Linked DNA regions of Homo sapiens: region 2 is linked to region 1. Evidence: promoter capture Hi-C in 16 types of primary human blood cells and fetal thymus (Javierre and others, 2016). All regions are on one chromosome and are shown on one strand. The core of a region is centred on a gene start or on the middle of the fragment in contact, and the rest is flanking DNA. Distances in the headings are between cores, read along the strand shown. Region 1 holds the start of LANCL3 (LanC like family member 3). Region 2 holds the start of SRPX (sushi repeat containing protein X-linked).

Region 1 (4,347 bases), core at 491-2,990:
CGCCTTTCTCACCTAAATAAAGCCAAGTTAAATGTGTCACTTCCTCCCTAGAACAGTAGTTGGCTCCAGGGGATTATGAATGAAAGTGCCTCTCTCTCCGTTCTAGTCACTATGATCCTTCAGAGTTTTGTTCTTTTTCCTACTCCACAGGAACTGGCATATTCTCTTCTAATAACCACATGCTGATTTCAAAGTGAGTCCAGGAAAAAATATGTATGTGAAAACCAATTCACTTTTAGGAGCCACTGTAAAGTTATTCATCAAGAAAAGCTGCCCTGTCAAGAAAGCTGTGGTCTTGCCCATCCTAAGCAAATATTTTTAAGTGAAATAATGCACATTCAACCACAATGGGGTACATTTCCGGGTACGTTTCCGTCTACATTTATGTATTTTTAAAGGGGACACTCCTATCAGATATGCATTTAATAAGAGCCATGGGTTGAACTGAATAGTAAGCAAAACAGTAAACACATCAGACCCACAGCTGAGCAGTTATTCTTGGTTACAGACCCAGGGCTCCAGAAGCAACTTACCTCCACATCGGCCCCGAAAAGTTCCATTACTTTCTAGCACTCTAACATTCGAGGATGCCTCAGCTTTTGACAGCAGAGTCAAAGGAAAGGAAATCCCTTCCATTTCTGAGGTTTTCATCTTACTTGAAAGGGCCACACTGTCATCCCCCAGAAAGCTAACAGGCATCTGGAGTGATGCCACGTAAAAACACGAACAAAGCGCAGAGACGCCGAATCTCAACAAATGAGAGACTGAAAACGACAGGAAAGAAGAGGGACAAAAGCAGGAGATAGACCTCAAGGGACTGAAGAAATGCTAGCACCACACCAAGAGTAACAAAGACTTGGAGAGCAACTCGGGACAGTGCTGCCCGAGCCACGGAGTCCGGGGAAAGGAGGCCGGGCAGGCGGCGAGCGCCCTCCCGCGGCCCGGGCTACCTCTTACCTCCTGGGCGAGTTTCTGCTTGAGCACCAGCGCGGCACACAGGTAACCCGCGCGGCCCACGAACAGCTCGTCGGAGCCGCACTCCAGGAAGGAGACCGGCGCGCAGACGGCACACAGAGCCCGGAACTTGCCCAGCGGCTGCACGTAGTCGGACCGGCCCAGGGCGTGGTATACGAGCGTGGCCACGGCGTACACGCCCGCGCCCCCGAGCAGGAAGGCGGCGCGGGTGTCGGCGTCCGGTTCGCCCCACTCCTCAGCGCGGGCGCACGCGTCGATGAGGCGCTTAGCCGAGCGCAGGTAGCGTTCCCGGGCCGTGGCGAAAAGCGGGCTCTGCGAGACGTGGTAGAGCATATACGCCACTCCGGCCACGCCGCCATAAAGCCCCCCCTGGCAGGCGCTAGCCCCCGCCGTCGCCCCTCGGGCCTCCGCGCCGCCCCCGAGTGGGGGAAGCTCCTGGAGGATGCGCTCGATGGTGGCGGTGACCAAGGGCGCCACCGCCTCCTCACACTGGCCCGCCAGCAGGCTGCCCTGGTAGTCATCGAAGCGATTGGCGAAGCAGCGCTTGGTGTCCATGCTGTTGCCCGTGCCCCCTAGTGCGGAGCTGAGGACCGCTTGAAGTCGTGCCCTGCAGCCCCGCACACCACCTCCGGCTCTCTGAGGCACTCGGATGCCGGTGTATGCGGCGGGGAAGGAGCGAGAAGGATGAGACGGGAGGTGACAAGAGGAGGCGGGCAAGGAGCGGATGGCCAAGTGGGGCGCCGGGCTGCCGCGAGGCTCCCGAGTGGCCCGGGCGATCGCGGGGGATGCGTGTCCTGCGCCCCCCCTCAGAGGCCGCGCCCTCGCTGAACCCGCCCCCTCCTGCGCCGCCGCAGCTTGGCTGCCTCTTCAAGGGGCCGAGGTGATCTCTGGCAGGACCCACGCGGGGCCCGCGCCACTCCTCCCGCTCCGCCCCCGACTCCTCCCCTACTGGCAGAAGGCCGAGGACGTGCGGGACACTGATCTGGAACGCTGGGACTCAGCATACACACACCTGGCGGTAGAGGTGATGGTCTCCAGTCCCTTGTATACTCAAAGTGTGGTCCTTGGGTTAGAAGCATCAGCATCACCCGGGGGCATGTTAAAAACGCAGCATCTCAGGCTTCACTCCAGACCTATTGACTCCAAATCTGAATATTCAGCAAGATTGCCAGGTGATTCGCATGCACATTAAAGTTTGAGGCGCCACTGAACTAGGCTAGAGTAGCAAGACAAAACTGGGCGCCTTCTTTGAAGTTTGTATTTCATCTTGGTCGCTTCGGAGTTCTCATTATGAATGTTTCAATCCCAAAGGCTGGGGCATTTGAGCACATCATGTTTAATGCATTAAAACGGTGAAATACCCCATACAGGAACTTTTTTCCCAGCTTTGATTTTTGTATTGTTTTCTTCGAGTATACAGGAGTAAAAAGTCAAAGAACCACACCAGGTTAAGGCAAGGAAGGGGCACGCCCCTCCTGCCATGCGTGCATAGTAAAAGCTCAATACATATCTTGAGGTCATTAACTAGTTAATATTAGGATAAACGCTCTGTGAGAATTTAATTAGGCTTTTTATCTCCCCCTTCCCTCCCTTCTTTTCCCATGTTTGTCCTCTTCTGCTTTTTTCCCAAGGGCGTTGTGGAGGGTCTCCTATGTGTCCTGAAACCTGGAAATAGAGGGATGAATAAGATAGACATGGTCCTAGACCCCTTGTAGCTTACAATTCAGTAGGAAAAAACAGAAAATGAACAATTACACAAGCTAGTTGCCTTTCTTGTGCTCAGCTGTTTGAAATAATTCTGCCTTTCCCAAAGTGTTGACTCTTGAAGACTAAAGAGGTCACGTCTCCCAGGAGTATTTGACTTTTGATAGGGACTGTGCAAGACATAAAGGAGTAAGTGGCTCATAGAACAGTTTCTGATACTTTGTGGGGAGAGTAACTACTCCACTTACTTGAAAGGCCAGTTTGGAGGCATTTTTTTTTCCTCAGAAGTGTTAAATGTCACCATGATTGGGAAGCAGATATTAAATACCCTGCCCCTCCACCCTTACTTGATGTAGTCTGGGAAAGAACCTTAGTTTGCCAACATGATTGCCAGGACTGACACATCCACATAGTTCAAGGACAGTATGGCCATCGTCCCCCTTTGATGCTGCCAAAACAGGTTTATTTTTAATAATAATAATAATGATAAAAGTCCACTTTTAGGCAGGGAGCTTGATATGTTAAAGGAGGAAAAGGCATCAAAGAAGCAACAGGAATGTTGAGTTTCTCCTTGAGACTTCCTTCCTCATCCCTCAACCATAACAGACATTAGAGGTGATTTTTGTCCCCTCAGACAAGGAAACATAAAATAAAGCCTTTACCAGCAGAAATGAAGCCTTATTCCACTTCATTCCTCCACACCTCACTCACCCTTGTCATGAATCTAGAGGCAACTCTATTAATTCTGACTCTGATTATTCTTCGAAACACTCCAGCCTAGAGGTAGCGCCAGCAACAACAACAGGGATCTGCTAACTGGCTTCAAAATAGAACTGTGTGTAAACACGTCTCCAAGAAAACGAGCTCTTCCACTTTTTCCCAGTTGTGTCATCTGTCTATTGCCCCAAAATGCTGTATGAAAAGCAATCACAAAATCTAATAGCATATGGCAGTAAATTTAATGTTTATGCATCTAGGATCTTGGCTGGGCTCATTCAGGTGTCTGGAGGTGGGTTGGGTCTTGCTTGGGGAGACTGAGGTGACTGGCCTCTGGCCCATATGTCTCTTCTCTTTTAGCTGGCCAACCCCAGCATGCTTGCACGGCAATGGCAGAGGGGCTAAAGCAAAAGCAGAGACATGCAAGACTTCTGAGGGTCTAGTCTCAGGAGCACACACTCTTTTCTGCCTTAGTCTATTGGCAAATCACATGAGGAAATATAAGGTGTTTTTGTTGAACTTCAAATTTGCATGACAAAGGGTATGGATACAGGGTAGGGTGAAGCGTTAGGGTTCTTTGAAACCCCACCTCTAATTGTCCTATACTTAATTTGCATGCAGTGTTATTTATTTTAATATCACTACTCCACTAGAATATACTCTCCATGAGGGTAGGGCTTTTTCTTGCATTTATTTACTGATATGCAAGATCCTAGAATAGTCTCTATTCTACCACTACTACTGCTACTGCTATTGCTACTACTACCACTACTCCCTGTAGTAGATATTTACTGAAAGTTTATGAAATAATGAATGAATTACCATGAGAGTGCCATGAGAGACTTAAGGTACCCTAAAGTATAGAACACAGAGTGAGGCCTTTTTTGAAACCTTAGCCTGACATGTCTAAACTCCTCCTATATTCTTGGACCCTTTTCCTCTTGTGAGCAC
Region 2 (4,347 bases), core at 1,260-3,759, 650 kb before region 1:
GAAAAAGAAAAAATCAAGTCAGTATTTTTTTTTTTGAGATGGAGTCTAGCTCTGTTGCCCAGTCTGGAGTGCAGTGGCACAACCTCTGCCTCCCAGGTTCAAGTGATTCTCCTGCCTTGGCCTCCCGAGTAGCTGGGACTACAGGTGTGTGCCACCACTCCCGGCTAATTTTTGTATTTTTAGTAGAGATGGGGTTTCACTATATTGGCCAGGCTGGTCTCAAACTCTTGACCTCAAGTGATCCGCCTACCTTGGCCTCCCAAAGTGCTGGGATTACAATCATGAGCCACTGCACCAAGCGTCAAGTCAGTATTTTGCGTGACCATCACCTCATCCATTTCTGATTTCTTTCTTTGTGGTGAGGACATTCAAAGGCCAGAGAGCAAGTCAACAGTAAGTGTGGTGTTTCTTGTAATCCAGCCAGAATCAGTGGATAGAAGTGAGCTAGAAGTTCCTTCTCAGCCCAGTAATAGAATGTATACTGGTTGTGGTGAAGACACATTGCTTCAGAGGTGACATAGGAAAGGAAGGCTGCTGGCCAGGCTATCCTGGACCTGGAATTTGGGGTGCACATTAACCCTTGTTTACAGACCTAAAGAAGTAGTTCTCTATTGGGGGCATTTTTCCCCTGGGGGACATTTGGCAATGTCTGGAGACATTTTTTTGGCTGCCATAACTGGGGAAAGGGGGATTGCTAGTGGTATCTGTTGCATAGAGGCCATCGATGCATCTCTCAACGTGCAAGGCAGTCCCCCTCCCCAAGAAAGAATCATCTAGCCCCAAATATCAATAGTGCCCAAGTTGAGAAACTCCTGGTCTAGAATTTTTATCCTATACTAAAACTTATACCGTGGAGCTTAGCGGATTGGGGAGAGACAAAAATATGCATCTGGTCAAACTCCAGGTCACATTCCTAAAGATTCTGATTTTATTAGTGTGAGGTAGAGCCTGGATATGGTATTTTCATGAAGCTCCCCAGGTGACCCACATAAACAAGGTTGAGAATGACTCCCTGGAAAGTCTGGTCTGATGGAGGCCACAGAATAGACTGACCTCCCCCATTTCCTTGCGACTAGGGGGTTATTTAAGGGTTGTTGGTTCCCTGAAGAGGTAGCAGCAGTGGAGAAACCCACAGGAGATGGAGCGAAGTCCCCCCAAGTGCTAGAGAGGGTAAGATGGACGTTCAAGTCTGGGGCTTTTGTGAGAATTGGGAAATGGCACTCCTTCTGGATAAACAAATTCAGAACTTCTAGGTGAGTGCCCCCAGGGCTCTTAGCCTAGCTATCAGACCAGACTACTGTGGCAGAGAGAAAGATGCCCTTCTAGTGGATGTGGCCCCTGCCAAGACGCAAAGCTCCCTGAACCCAAAGGCATTTGGATTTTGGCTCCCACTTGCCCCTTCCTCTGGATGCCTTTGTACAGTGCCCAAACTGCACAACCTAATGCAGCAACTCCAACTAAAATTTGCCTTAGCTAAGATCTTTCTGAGACAGCAAAGGGGCAACGTATTGCCTTACTGATTTAACAAGAACTAAACAACCAAAACAACAAACAAACAAACAAAACTATGAGAGGCTTACTCAAATGCCTCAAAGAAACCAGATCCGTCCTGCGGGCAGCCTAGAAACCCTGTCCTGATGCCAGGATCCAGCGATGCCAAGCCACAGGGAAGAGGCTCCAGTCTGGTCGTGGTATCTTTGGGGTGGTTGAGAACAACCCAGGAAATGAGGAAATCTGGCTGCAGGAACCTACAGCTGGATCCCCATGGCTGTGGGTGAGACAGAGAACTTTCTGTGCCTTGTGCTCTCCCATCAGCTGATCCTGGAAGGAGAACCTCAAGCCCCATCCTAAACCGCAGCAGAGCAGGCACGCACCCGGTCCAGTCCTTGATTTATTCCTTTGCAAAAGAGAAACAAACTAACAAAAAATCTGTAGTATGGACTTTGACGTCGGCAGAACTACACACCTAAGTTCCAGTCCCTGCTCTGCCAGTAACGGGGGTGAATCTGGGCAAGTTTCTAAGCGTCGGTGTCTTATTGGAGAAAGTGGACATGGTAATAGCGAACTTGGGGCATGGTCGTGAGGATCAAAACAGAGAACATGGCCATAGTATCCGGCCGCAGTGGGCCACTCTGAATCCCCTCGGTTGCCCCTTCTGTTTCCGTGTGACTCACGCAGCTTTCTGCACAGATGGTATCCTTCTAGACGTCTGGGATGTTCGAGGCGGTTGTATTGAATACCGTGTGTGTATTCCGGGTGAGGGGGCGCGCAAATTGGGGCAAAGAAAGCTACTTCAGGATATTTCGCTCTGCTGGGGCTTGTCTCCAGCGCTCTCTGGCCAGAAAAAGCGCTGGCACAAAAGGAGGAGGTGGGTGGGTCAGAGCCCCGAACCGCGCAGTGTTCCAGGGGGGGCGGAGAAAGGAGGGCAGGCCCCAGGCAGGAAGGAGGGAGGGAAAGAGGCGAGAGGAGGAGTTTTCCAGCCCGGCCTTCGCCCGCCCGCTAGCACGCAGTCCCTTGGTCTCTTCGGTCTCCTGCCGCCCCCGGGAAGCGCGCTGCGCTGCCGAGGCGAGCTAAGCGCCCGCTCGCCATGGGGAGCCCCGCACATCGGCCCGCGCTGCTGCTGCTGCTGCCGCCTCTGCTGCTGCTGCTGCTGCTGCGCGTCCCGCCCAGCCGCAGCTTCCCAGGTAGGATCGGAGGCGTGGCTGCCTCCTCAGCTGGGCACCAAAGACCCCCGGAGTCGCCGTTGGGACCCTTCGCTCGGGATAGAGGGAGGTGCCGGGGGCGCCCTTTGTTTGCGCAGAACTCCTCTTTCGCAGCCCGAGGGTGGGGATGATGCGGATCGGGGCTGGTGTCTGGGCACGCGCCGGGAAGAACTGACCATCCCATCTCCAGGCGCGGGGCGCCCTCGCGGCGACGGGAGCCCTAGCACCTTCTGCGTCCGGGCTTCCAGAGTTCCAATCAAACCCTTTTCGGTGTAGGAGGCTCCACAGAGAAAGTTTGGCCGCAGACTAGTTTGCTACTTTCTCACCCCCAGAATTTTGCCTCTCACATGGTTGCCCACTGGAGGCTGGCAGCTTGTCCTGGAAGGAGCCTCTATGCCCTCCCACTACACGTCCCAGGCTACCCCCTTGGGGCCGCAGGACACGAGCCACGGTAAAGCGACTTTTGTGGAAGGCACGGGCGGGGCCTCCCCTGAATCTCTTAACCCCCCCTGCTGGGGATTCCGAGAAAGTCTGCGCCTCTGAGGAAGAATTGCCAGCTGAGAGTGGTGACATGTGGCATGCACTTGATTAGCCCCAGGGAAAGAGGGCTACTCGCGCAAGGATCTGCTGGGCAGAGGGTGCGGCTTATTCCTGGAGGGCGTGGTCTCCGGCATCTAAGGGGGCCCTGGTGTTTCTTGGGGGCTCTCATGGTGTGAGCAAAATTCTCTTTGGAGATGCACTTTAAAAAGCTCCAGCTAACTTCCTCACCCTGGAGTCTTAGGTTAGCGAAGAGCTTCAGGGGAGTAGGGCAATGTGCCATGCACTCCTGTTGCCTCGGAATGGAGAGGAAATCCATGGATGCGTTTTAATTTAGTGTTAATGGGAAAGTGGGTGACGTCGGCTATAGGGCGTGCAAATATTTGGCTCTGCGTTCAACACCGTGGGCAGCTTAAATCTAGGGTATGAGAAATGAACCTACTGAGTTCTGGTAGAAGGATAGAGGATGCCCATCTTTCTAGCAGTGTGCTTGGGAGATGTAGGGATGGCTGCGGGAAATTCTCTGCACGCACCTAAATAAATGAATGAATAGAACAAATTTGTAAATTAATAAACAGGAACATTTGTGTTTTGAGCTGACTCTTAAGTTTTAAGCTGCTTTGTAGGAACTGATTCAGGGTAAAGTGGAAAGGAAATTTTATCCTTACTGCCAGGCAACTGTTATTCCCATGGTGTGTTAATACCTCCTCTCCCACCCCCTTTAGCAGGAATCAGGTTAAAATGAACCTGTAGGGGAAGAGGAAGTCATTAAGCGTCCCAGAAGCAGCTTTCTGGGAGCGGGCAAATAAGGTGAGAAGCTAGAGGTAGCTTTTCCGCACTGAGTTGGGAGGTGCCTGTGAGCTGCCTGGGAACCTCAACTTTTAGTTGAGCCTTTCTCAAGCTGGGGACCCCTTCTCCTTTTCCATCCGACCTCCCTCCGTTCTCCTCCCCTGCCCTCCCCTCTCCTTTCTCTCATCTTCCACCTTTATATAGTACAGCTTGCTACCAGGGCCCAGCCACAGAATCATGAGTTCGCCAGTTTGGGCATTCACTACCACCTGTCTTTTGGGACCTATCCCTGGCTTTCCTGGCTCCCTCTGCCAGCCTG

The links. The method cuts DNA at HindIII sites, captures the fragments that hold promoters and counts their contacts. A CHiCAGO score of 5 or more calls a contact.
Region 2: the fragment with the promoter of SRPX here is called in contact with the fragment with the promoter of LANCL3 in region 1 in 8 of 17 cell types (monocytes, M1 macrophages, M2 macrophages and 5 more); the score reaches 9.8 in monocytes.

The regions. Positions count from the first base shown.
Region 1 is chrX:37,569,054-37,573,400 of GRCh38, reverse strand. It overlaps LANCL3 (LanC like family member 3), which reads right to left and starts at 1,740. Exons shown (of 5, transcript NM_001170331.2): 1 at 958-1,740. The coding sequence starts at 1,530. The HindIII fragment of the contact is 8,836 bases long and covers 1-4,347 here.
Region 2 is chrX:38,219,033-38,223,379 of GRCh38, reverse strand. SRPX (sushi repeat containing protein X-linked) reads left to right here and starts at 2,509. Exons shown (of 10, transcript NM_006307.5): 1 at 2,509-2,684. The coding sequence starts at 2,588. LOC124905176 (a long non-coding RNA gene) reads right to left here and starts at 2,472. Exons shown (of 2, transcript XR_007068212.1): 1 at 1,581-2,472. The HindIII fragment of the contact is 8,549 bases long and covers 1-4,347 here.